Linked DNA regions of Homo sapiens: region 1 is linked to region 2. Evidence: promoter capture Hi-C in 16 types of primary human blood cells and fetal thymus (Javierre and others, 2016). All regions are on one chromosome and are shown on one strand. The core of a region is centred on a gene start or on the middle of the fragment in contact, and the rest is flanking DNA. Distances in the headings are between cores, read along the strand shown.

What was found. Contacts are between HindIII fragments. The CHiCAGO score rates a contact against its expected background, and 5 or more counts as called.
Region 1: a fragment that was not itself captured here is called in contact with the fragment with the promoter of DIAPH2 in region 2 in 2 of 17 cell types (total B cells and M2 macrophages); the score reaches 6.2 in total B cells.

Annotation. Positions count from the first base shown.
Region 1 is chrX:97,685,378-97,690,340 of GRCh38, reverse strand. No RefSeq gene overlaps it. Among named protein-coding and RNA genes, the nearest start is that of DIAPH2-AS1, 120 kb to the right of the region's middle. The HindIII fragment of the contact is 2,121 bases long and covers 2,144-4,264 here.
Region 2 is chrX:96,682,488-96,686,995 of GRCh38, reverse strand. DIAPH2 (diaphanous related formin 2) reads right to left here and starts at 2,154. Exons shown (of 27, transcript NM_006729.5): 1 at 1,806-2,154. The coding sequence starts at 1,937. RefSeq lists enhancers at 937-1,650, 1,651-2,366. The HindIII fragment of the contact is 2,760 bases long and covers 204-2,963 here.

The DNA.
Region 1 (4,963 bases), core at 1,955-4,454, 1.0 Mb before region 2:
TACATAAATTGTTCCAAACACTTAAAAGCTTTCCAATAACTGAATTGAGTATAAGATCTTTAAACTTTAATCAGTTCAAATTAAATAAATTGAAAAACTTATTCTCAGTTGCACTAGCCCCATGTCAAGTGTCCCATAGCCACATGTGGCAGTGACTATTGTATTTAGCAATGCAGGTCTAAACAATATGATTACATTGTTACTTTGCTATTTTTTGGCTTTAGAAATAATCAATCACTATTCCACTATTGAAAACAAGACTTATTAACTTATATTGTCTCCAACTATATACAAATATATACACATATTCCTTTCCTGTCTTCCCATCCTTACCTTATAATTATATAATTATATTATTTTGATTAAACCGACATGGATAGTTAATAGTTGTCTTTATTTGTTCCCTTAGCTTTCTATGTACCTATTCTTTCCCATGTAAGAAATCATTCTGGGGATTCCCTTTGTCCCTGTTCTAAGCTGGATCCCATGTGACTTTTATTACAAGCCTTCCGCTTTCTTGGTTTACACCTCTATTTGGGTGGAAGATATGCCCTAGTTATTTTCTGAAAAAGGGTGCTTGGGGAGAGGGGAAAATGTTTTGAAATTTCTCAAATCTGAAAGTTTGTTTATTTTGCCCTCATAATTGATTAATAGTTTGGCTGGGTATAGCATTCTAGGTCGATAATAATTTTCTCTTAACATTTTGAAAGTTTGTGCCATCAGCTTCTAGCTTCCCATATTGCAATTGAGTTTTATGCCATTCTGAGTCTGGTTCATCCTCCTGAATGTTTGTAGTATCTCTTCTTGGTCCCAGATATCCTGAAATTTCATAGTGATGTGCTTTAGCCCTGGGCCTTTTCAATATGGAGATTTATGCCTTGTAGGAGTGGAAATTTTTCTTGAATTATTCCTTTGATCTTCTTTCCTACATTTTCTCTGTCCTCTTTTTCTGAAACTCCTTAATATTATAATGTTGAGTTTCCTGTAATAATCCTCTAATTTTCTATTTGTTTCTATCATTCTTTTTGCTCTACTTCCTAATTGCTTTCCAATAACTTTATCTTTAAAACTTTATCTTTAAAACTCATCTTTAAAACTTTATCTTTTGAGTGTATTTCTGCTATATTTTTAATTTCTAGGATATTTTCCTTATTTCCTGAATGTTTGTGTATGTGTATAAAACTTGTTATTATTTCATGGATATTTTCTCATATAATATATCTCACTGCATAGTCTGTTCCTACCCGGTTACTTTTGTTTGATTTTTATATATGTGCTTGTTTGTTGTTATGGTCTCTGTCATTCATATTTGAGACTTTCCTCATTTGTCTGGTCATCCTTGGCTGTCTGCTCATATTGAAGAATGAGAAACTGAAAAGCCAATTATAAGCTCTGAGCTTGTATGTTTCCTTGTAGGGTACTCTGGTTGAGTCATTTCTTTGGGGAATAACTGATTTCAGTATTTTTAGGTCTTTCCTGTTATGTGAGTTAGATTCACCAAAGAAAGCACTTCAGATTTCTTGCCTAGATGATGGTGTTCTGAGACAGGAGTTGGGAGAGACGGCTGGGGATCTCAAGATTCAACTAACACTCCTGTTTTCATTACAGTACCCAGTGTACATTTTGACTTAATACTTCTGTTTTCAGTATAGTACCCAACCCTCCACTGTGACTGGCATTCCCTTCCCAGAACCTCTATTTTACCTTCTGCAGAAAATAAATTCACAATCTTCTGTCAAGGTGTAGGAAGGCTGGTTCTCCAATGCATTCAGAAGAAGAGGATATTTGTTAGATCTAATTGTTTTTCAGTTTGTCTGTGTTGAGACAGAGTCTCACTCTGTTGCCCAGACTGGAGTGCAGTGGCACGATCACGGCTCACTGCAGCCTTGACCTCCCAAGCTCAGGTGATCATCCCACCTCAGCCTCCTGAGTAGTTGGAACTACAGGCATGCGCTACCACGTCCAGCTGATTTTTTTTTATTATTATTTGTAGAGATGGGGTTTCACCATGTTGCCCAGGCTGTTAATTGTTTCTTAATATAAAATTTGCCAATGTAAATTGTTTCTCTTTTCCCATTGCCAGTTTAGGATTAGGCCTTTTTTTTATTTTATTTTAAAATCACGTATTACTTGGCCATAAGCTTTCCAGCTCCCAAAATTTTATTAATATTACCTGCTCACCTCTCATATTTACTTTCCATTGGAGGCTTATGCCTTTTATGGTATCCCTTTATTTTAATTTTTGTAATGTTGTAGGAGAAATCAGAGGCTAATTTTTTCATTAAATCTGCCATCTTGAATTGGCAATCTTACCTGTCATTCTTTTGTGTCTTTTGGAAACATCATTTATTTTTCTTGTGCAAATAGTTTATGAAACCCTTTCTTTCCTGCATGCCTAACCCATTTTCTTCTTTTGTGAAAACTGCCTGTGAATTTTAAGCTGACATGATAACATCTACCTTCTCATTCTTATAGTGGTGGTGGACAATGAGGAAGTAATTCCTGGGTAAGAAAAAGTGTCGAAACCCCCTGTGTACATAAATGATATTATAGAAAACTAAAGTGTTTCTCAATTTGCATTCTTTCCCTATATAAAAATAATGTTTTAGATTGGGAGGAGGAAGCAACAACAGATGCTAAAGTTGCTCACTTTCCTGTGGTCTGACTGTCAGAACCCAAAAGACAGAGAACTCCGGCAACAAAGCCTGGACAACACTTGTCATCTTGCTAAATGACTCGTTCTGAAAGTAATGGACATACTTTCATTATCTTCATAATATCATCTCTTGCAGAAGTACCTTTGAAGAACAGATAAATGTCTTGGTGCCAAAAGACAATGCTTTGGGATAAATTATCTGTGTTCAGAACAATACCAAAACAGACGTACATCACATCATCATGCTAATTATTTCACTATGGCACAGTGGGAAATGACCTTTGTAACAAATGCCACATCAGGTAAATGGGTCATTTTACTTAAATTGCCTATATGAGATAAGACACATAAAATGGCACGATAAAAGTACAGATAAGTCAAGGCTCCAGAAAGATTTGATTCTCCCCAAACAATTTCACATAGCCAAATACAGAGTCCTGAATGTGCTACTATATGTTGCATCAAAGACTGTGACTCTTCTGATTCACTTTCGGGTGATCTTTATAACATCTGCTCTTTCATGGAAAGCTATAGCGAAAATACAGTGCATGTGGGTTTGCAGCATGAAGAAGGTGTTGCCAGAGGGCTTGTGAATAACTGACAGGATATCTTTGGTTGAGTTCTGTTGTAACAATAGGCAGCACCTAGCACAGAGCCTGGTGAGTAGTAATTGCTCAAGAAATAGCTGAATGGTGGATGGCAATGATGATGATGATGATGATGATATGATGATATTAATCTCACATAATCCAAACGTAAGAGTTGGACATATTATGGTATAATCAATACAAATTTTTCTACCAATGTATTTCTAATTCAGAATATTCTGTTTTAAGCATGGAATATTGGCCTTTTAAAAACCCAGTTTTGGAAAGATCTTTCTGGCCACTCTCTCAACTACATAGCTAGAAGTGATATGCGAAGCAAATCAGAGACCTTTTTGTGCAAATCAAGGAACTTGTAGTTTTAGTCAAAGCAATTAAATGGTCTATTAGAGAGATTACTGCCTTATTTTATCAATTCTAACTAATATATATTTTGCACATTTTAAGGCATCTCCAGTTGGGATTTTTCATATAATGAATGAGTACATTTCTCCCTACTTTTCACACCATAAAGAAAGTGTTAGTAAATCCATGGTGTTCCCTTCAATACACTTTATTGATGAAATATGGCAAATAACATCATGGAGAACACAAACTATTGGTCTAAATAGCAAGGTGCTTTTCTTAACTTATTCCCTGGTTAGGTTTAGAGAAAAGAAGAAGGGCTTCTGTAAACTGAAAAGTCAAAAAGAACTTATCTCAGACCAGTTAGGCAAGTTGAATTGGCTACCTACAAAAAGACAAAAGAGTAGGCCCCTCACTGAGAGATAAGTACCCTGGTCATTTTGATATCCAGTGTAAGTTACAGGAGGTTGAGGCCCAGCCTACAGGGTGGCTTTTTGACTACAACGTATAATTCAAAGTGATATCACAAAATTAAAGATTAGTAAAACTGATACCAAATTGTACATAAGCATACATTTCTTTACAAAGACAAAACTGAAACAAAGCAAAATCTTAAAATCTATAAGCAAATTATCTCCTTATACATTTAACCAAAGCTTTTTCGTTGTAATAACTTTTTAAAAATAGAATATGGGAATAGTGTGCTAATCCTCTTTCTAAGACACCTGTTTATACTGTATGCTAATTGCCTGGACGACATGGCTGTGCCATACTACAACCACCTGGTGGCAGCATACCTAATTTGAGGATGTGCAAGTTTTTTTCCTTTTCATTTTAACATTGTGAATATTCCCTTGAAGGTCAAAACAGCAAACTAGAAATATGAAGGACAGAAAATATCACAATACTTATTCAGGTACTTAGAGCTCATCTGTGGGCGTCTATTAGTCCACCTCCCTACGGAAATGGACTATCATGATCCCTTTCTGCCATTTACTCTTACATTTATTTTCTTGGTTGCTAATTTGAGATAAATTGGCCTTGGCATGTGTATTCAATCTTTTTTTCCTCAAGTGCTGTACAGATTGCCAAGTGTTAAGAGATGAGCTTGTGGGTTTCTGTGTATGGCTCATGAATGCTTTGATTAACTTGTTAATGAGACAGGTGGAATCTCATTACAGAAAGTTTGTCCTGATGAAAAAATGTTAAGTATATGATAATGAGGTTGCACAAACAGGACTTGTCCTGGGCAAAATTATAAGATATGTGAAGATTCTCTTCCATGCCCTGCCTTCTTTCCCCTTCCCTCATATCTACTTTAGCAGCCTTCTCTCCAAGGACCTGTTCTGGTTCTCTC
Region 2 (4,508 bases), core at 905-3,404:
CTACACAAATAATTTCTATCACCATATGGCTCTCTTTTATAATCCCATACCACAACTCCTTTACACTCATATACACACACAAATTAAGGACTAGTTCAGAGATTATTAACATAATACTCAAAATAAAAAAATTTCATCTAAGTAAAGTTGTATCTTACTAGCAAACTTCTAAGAATCCCAGATGAATTCTTTCCTGAAAAGCTTACTAAATCTTACTGTTTGGTCAACTTGCTTGCCTTAAAATGTGCCACAATGTCTTCCTAAATTTGTTTTTGTTAACTCTGACACATCTGCTTGTAAAATCACGTAAGGCTCAAAAGTTATGTTTGAGCAAAAAAAGAAAATTCATGTTAATATTAACAAACTCTTGGATTCAAATCTTGTTCTACCGTATCAAGCTATGTTCAACACGGAACAGTGAAGTTAGCTAGGAACCGGAACAGTGAAGTTAGCTAGGAACTGAAAATGATACGATCTCATAACTATCTAGTTACCTTGTCAAAGCAAGTAAAACATAAAAGATGAATCAGGACAAATGGCTAAAGGGAAGAGAAGAATATAATCAAGGTGTTACTACTAACAGAGATAAGTGTTTTTTTTTTTCTCGAAAGCATACTTCTTAAAAGTGGCAGATTCTTGCTAGACGTACCAAACCATTTGTGGAAACTATCAGTTAACTTTTTACTTAAATTTTTAATCACTGATTAAACCACAGTTTTGTACTGGATCCAAACCAAATGGCCAGATGCCATAAGAAACGGCTTTATTTATATGTCACCCTCTCCTTGTCTATTATAATCAAGTTGGTAGTTAAAGCTGAAATCTATACATTCAACATGTGGCTTGTGCTTCGGATCTGGACTAAGAATACAGCTCTAAGGAGTATCTGCTGAATTTGTACAGGAAAACCCTTTCCCCTCACACCACCCAAATTAGAAAGTTTACAAAAAGCGGAACCCTTCTGATGAGCTGAGGAAACTCCAGTATTTCCCAATGCAATACCAGGCCTCATCGATTTCATTCCTCTGCACATTCAGTGGCAGGAAATGGACTGCTACCATCGGTTCACACTATCAGCACGGTGAGATTTGCACAGTTTGTGCCTACTGCTTTTGAGCGTTCTTAATCAACTAAGTGGAAGTACTGTATGACTATGCCTATTACACACACTCGACAGTTGGTGGTACCTCACCCAGCCTCAAACTCCCACGCGCCCCCACCCTTCCAAAGAAACATTTCTTGGGAGAGCACATGGAGAGAGGCAAGGAGGAGGAAAAAGGCACGTAGGCGCCTCTTCCTGAGATTTCTGGTAAAGTAGAAAGACTGGGAGCATAAATAGTGTTCTTCTTGATTTGCGAAGCTGTAGGTGGGCTCCCAAGGACTTGGAATAAAAAGGAGGGAGGTTCCCCTGCCCCGGACCCTACGCGTTAGGAGGCAAAACAGCAACTAACAAGAAGTGGGAGGAGAATGGAATCGCGCAAAGGTTTGCGCCCACAAGTTAGACAAACAACAGCCCTACCCAGTACTCGGGGTGTCCCCAAGTTGGGGCTGGGCCTTTCTCCTTCCCGCACCGCCTCCCGGGCTGACAAGAGTGAGAAAGGGGTTAAGTAGAGAAGGGGGTGCTCTTCCGCCCCCACGCCGTCTCCGCGCCTCGGCGTGGCCACTCCTTTAGCGGCTCCCCGAGTTGCACAGCGAGGTCGCGGTCATCCTTGGGAGGGGGCCCCGGGTGCCCCCGTGTTCAATGGCAGGAGGATCCCGGGGCTCTCCCTGTCCCTAAGGCCGGCGGGGGCTGCGGGAGCACTCACCAATTTGGGTTTGTTTTTCGTTTCCTCTTCATTGGCGGCCCGGTTCCCCGCGCTCCGCTTGTTGCTCCGGCCCCCACCGGGTTCCTCGCTGCCGCCTCCCGCTCCCGACGCCGCCGCCCCGGGCTGCTCCATCTTTCTCCGGCCCTGTCACCTGTGCCCTGTAACCCCACCTCTCCTCAACTGAGAAAGCACCTCGGGGCGCTCACACTGCCCCGCGCTGACTCGGCGGCACCTCTTCCTGAGGGAGAGAGTGTCTGCCCGGGAAGCTGCCGATTTCAGGCCCCCGGGACTCCAGGCTCCCAGGCACCCCCGACGCAACCACGCCGTTGCCACTACTCGGCGCTGGGGCAAGCCCTGCCCCTGAGCAGTTGCAATTACCACGGTCGCCGCCGCCCTCAGGGCGGTGTTTAGGGTGGAGGGAAAAGTAGGTGCCTATCTCTTTAAGAGGGCCTCAACACACGTGATTCTTCAAAGTGCCCGCATCGGCCGCCCGGGCGCGCAAAGCTGCTTCCTACTCCCGCAGCCGAGCCGGCCCCAGCTACTGAGCATGCCCGGCGCGGTGACTGGAGCCTAACAGAGCACTTTCAGCTGCGGTTAGGCACTGATTTCACTTCCTAGTGGCCCAGCGAGAACAGGGAGGGAACTAGTCAAGAGAAAGGAAGGGTAGCCCATTTTAGAGATGGGGAAACTGAGGCCCGGGAAGATCCGCCTGTAAGTTTCACTGGCGGGTCAACCTGAGTATCAGCTTTCACTTCTGTGGGCCACAGCACCTTCCCTCCCTGAGGCCTCTCCGGGGGTGTGGTCCTGCTACAGTCTGTGGAAAGACTTGATTGGCAAGGGAACTGGCATCCTATAGGAAAACCACCGGGAGTGCTGATTAATTGCCTCGACAGACTGTGTGTGGGTCAGAGTGGAAAGAGTGAGTGCTTTCTGTTGTCGTGATTACGTTGTGACCGAAGAAATACAGTTGTTCCTTTATTCCCTTGCTGCAGGGTTGTTGAAGCAGCAGGCGCCCACCGCTTAATCCCTAGGGGATTGTTAGGTTCTATAACCAAAACACTTACATACAGCTAGCAATTGAATTGAGTGCTATTTTCAGGTTCCCGAACTAGTTTAGAGTTGTTGTGGGGAGTGAATAAGATCATGTGTGTCAAAGCTTTGTTGTAAATGAAAATCCCTAGACAAATGCTAGGTGTTTTTGTGCAGCAGCAGGGCACTGTTGGGACGATAGTCTTAAGTCCTTGCGTCATACCTAGCATTTTGTCCTCAGGACAAAATATAGTACCCACACTGTATTTCTTCCATCCTCTTTAAATGATGCCCTTTAAAAGTAAAGGTACACACTGAGAACATTAGACGGGGTGGGTAGGATTTGAATGAACCACCATCATAGAATAGGAGCACATATGCTAGGAAAGCTACCTATAAAGTAAATTTAAATATGAAATCTATAAACATGCCATACACCTATTACTGAAGATATCTCCAGACTATGACTCCTTTTGACCTTCTCCCCTTCGGCCTAAATTTAATATGCTGAATGGAATTTGTATCTGAACATATTTATTGAGAGTGCATTAGGATGCATTTGACCATGCTATAGGTGCAAGGAGACAGCTAACTTGGGCAGTAGAATGAAAAGAACACCAGATATCTGAAAACAGCTTTAATTCTAGCTTTGTCATTGTCATTAACTTTCTTTTTTTTTTAATTCTGAGACAGAGTTTCCCTCTTGTTGCCCAGGCTGGAGTGCAAAGGTGCAATCTCAGCTCACCGCAATCTCCACCTCCCGGGTTCAAGCGATTCTCCTGCCTCAGCCTCCCAAGTAGCTGGGATTACAGGGACCCACCACCACGCCCAGCTAATTCTGCATTTTTAGTAGAGATGGGGTTTCTCCGTGTTGGTCAGGCTGCTCTCAAACTCCTGAGCTTAGGTGATCCGCCTGCCTTGGCCTCCCAAAGAGCTGGGATTACAGGCGTGAGCCACCGTGCCCGGCTGACTTTCTTTTTAATCATGGAGGTGTGACTTCTCTACTCCTAAGGTGGCAAGCTACCAAAGGACAGCAGAGAAGAGGGAATACATGCTCCCAAACAGGGTGCTCAAGGAGCCCCATGGTAACTTTGCTTTGTTGAAGTTCCCGTTTTACTTACTTAAAGTTTAGTGTATATTTTGAATTCAACTCACTACATACACACACACACAAACACAATTTATATAAATGTCTCCTCTCCTGAAAAATTGAGTCAAAATGGGTGCTTCAGAAAGACATGACCTGTTTAGCCAATGCGTAATTCCTGTTTGTGCCATAGGTGTGGTCCATAGCTGAGGGCCCTCCAAGCGCAAACATGGTTCAGTAATCTGCCCAGTAGACATTTCTTCAGCTCCTTAGAGTACACTAGGTGATACAGAGTGTCATGAGTAAGAAGGATGAAGATGACACAGTTTCCGCCTTTTAGAACTTCAGAGCCTACTGGGAGAGACAGACCATTAAAGAACTGCACTGCACTATAACAGATATGAACAGGAAGCCTTTGAAGCACATGAAAGAGGTAACTATCGGAGTGTCAGAGGCTCAGGGACACCTTCCCAAAGAAGATGATGTTTGAGCTGAGTCTTAAGGGTCTGATTCAAGTTAACATTTGTTGGCAGCCTACTAAGTGTGAGGTACTGTGCAAGGCATCATGAGTACAGTGGTGAACAAGA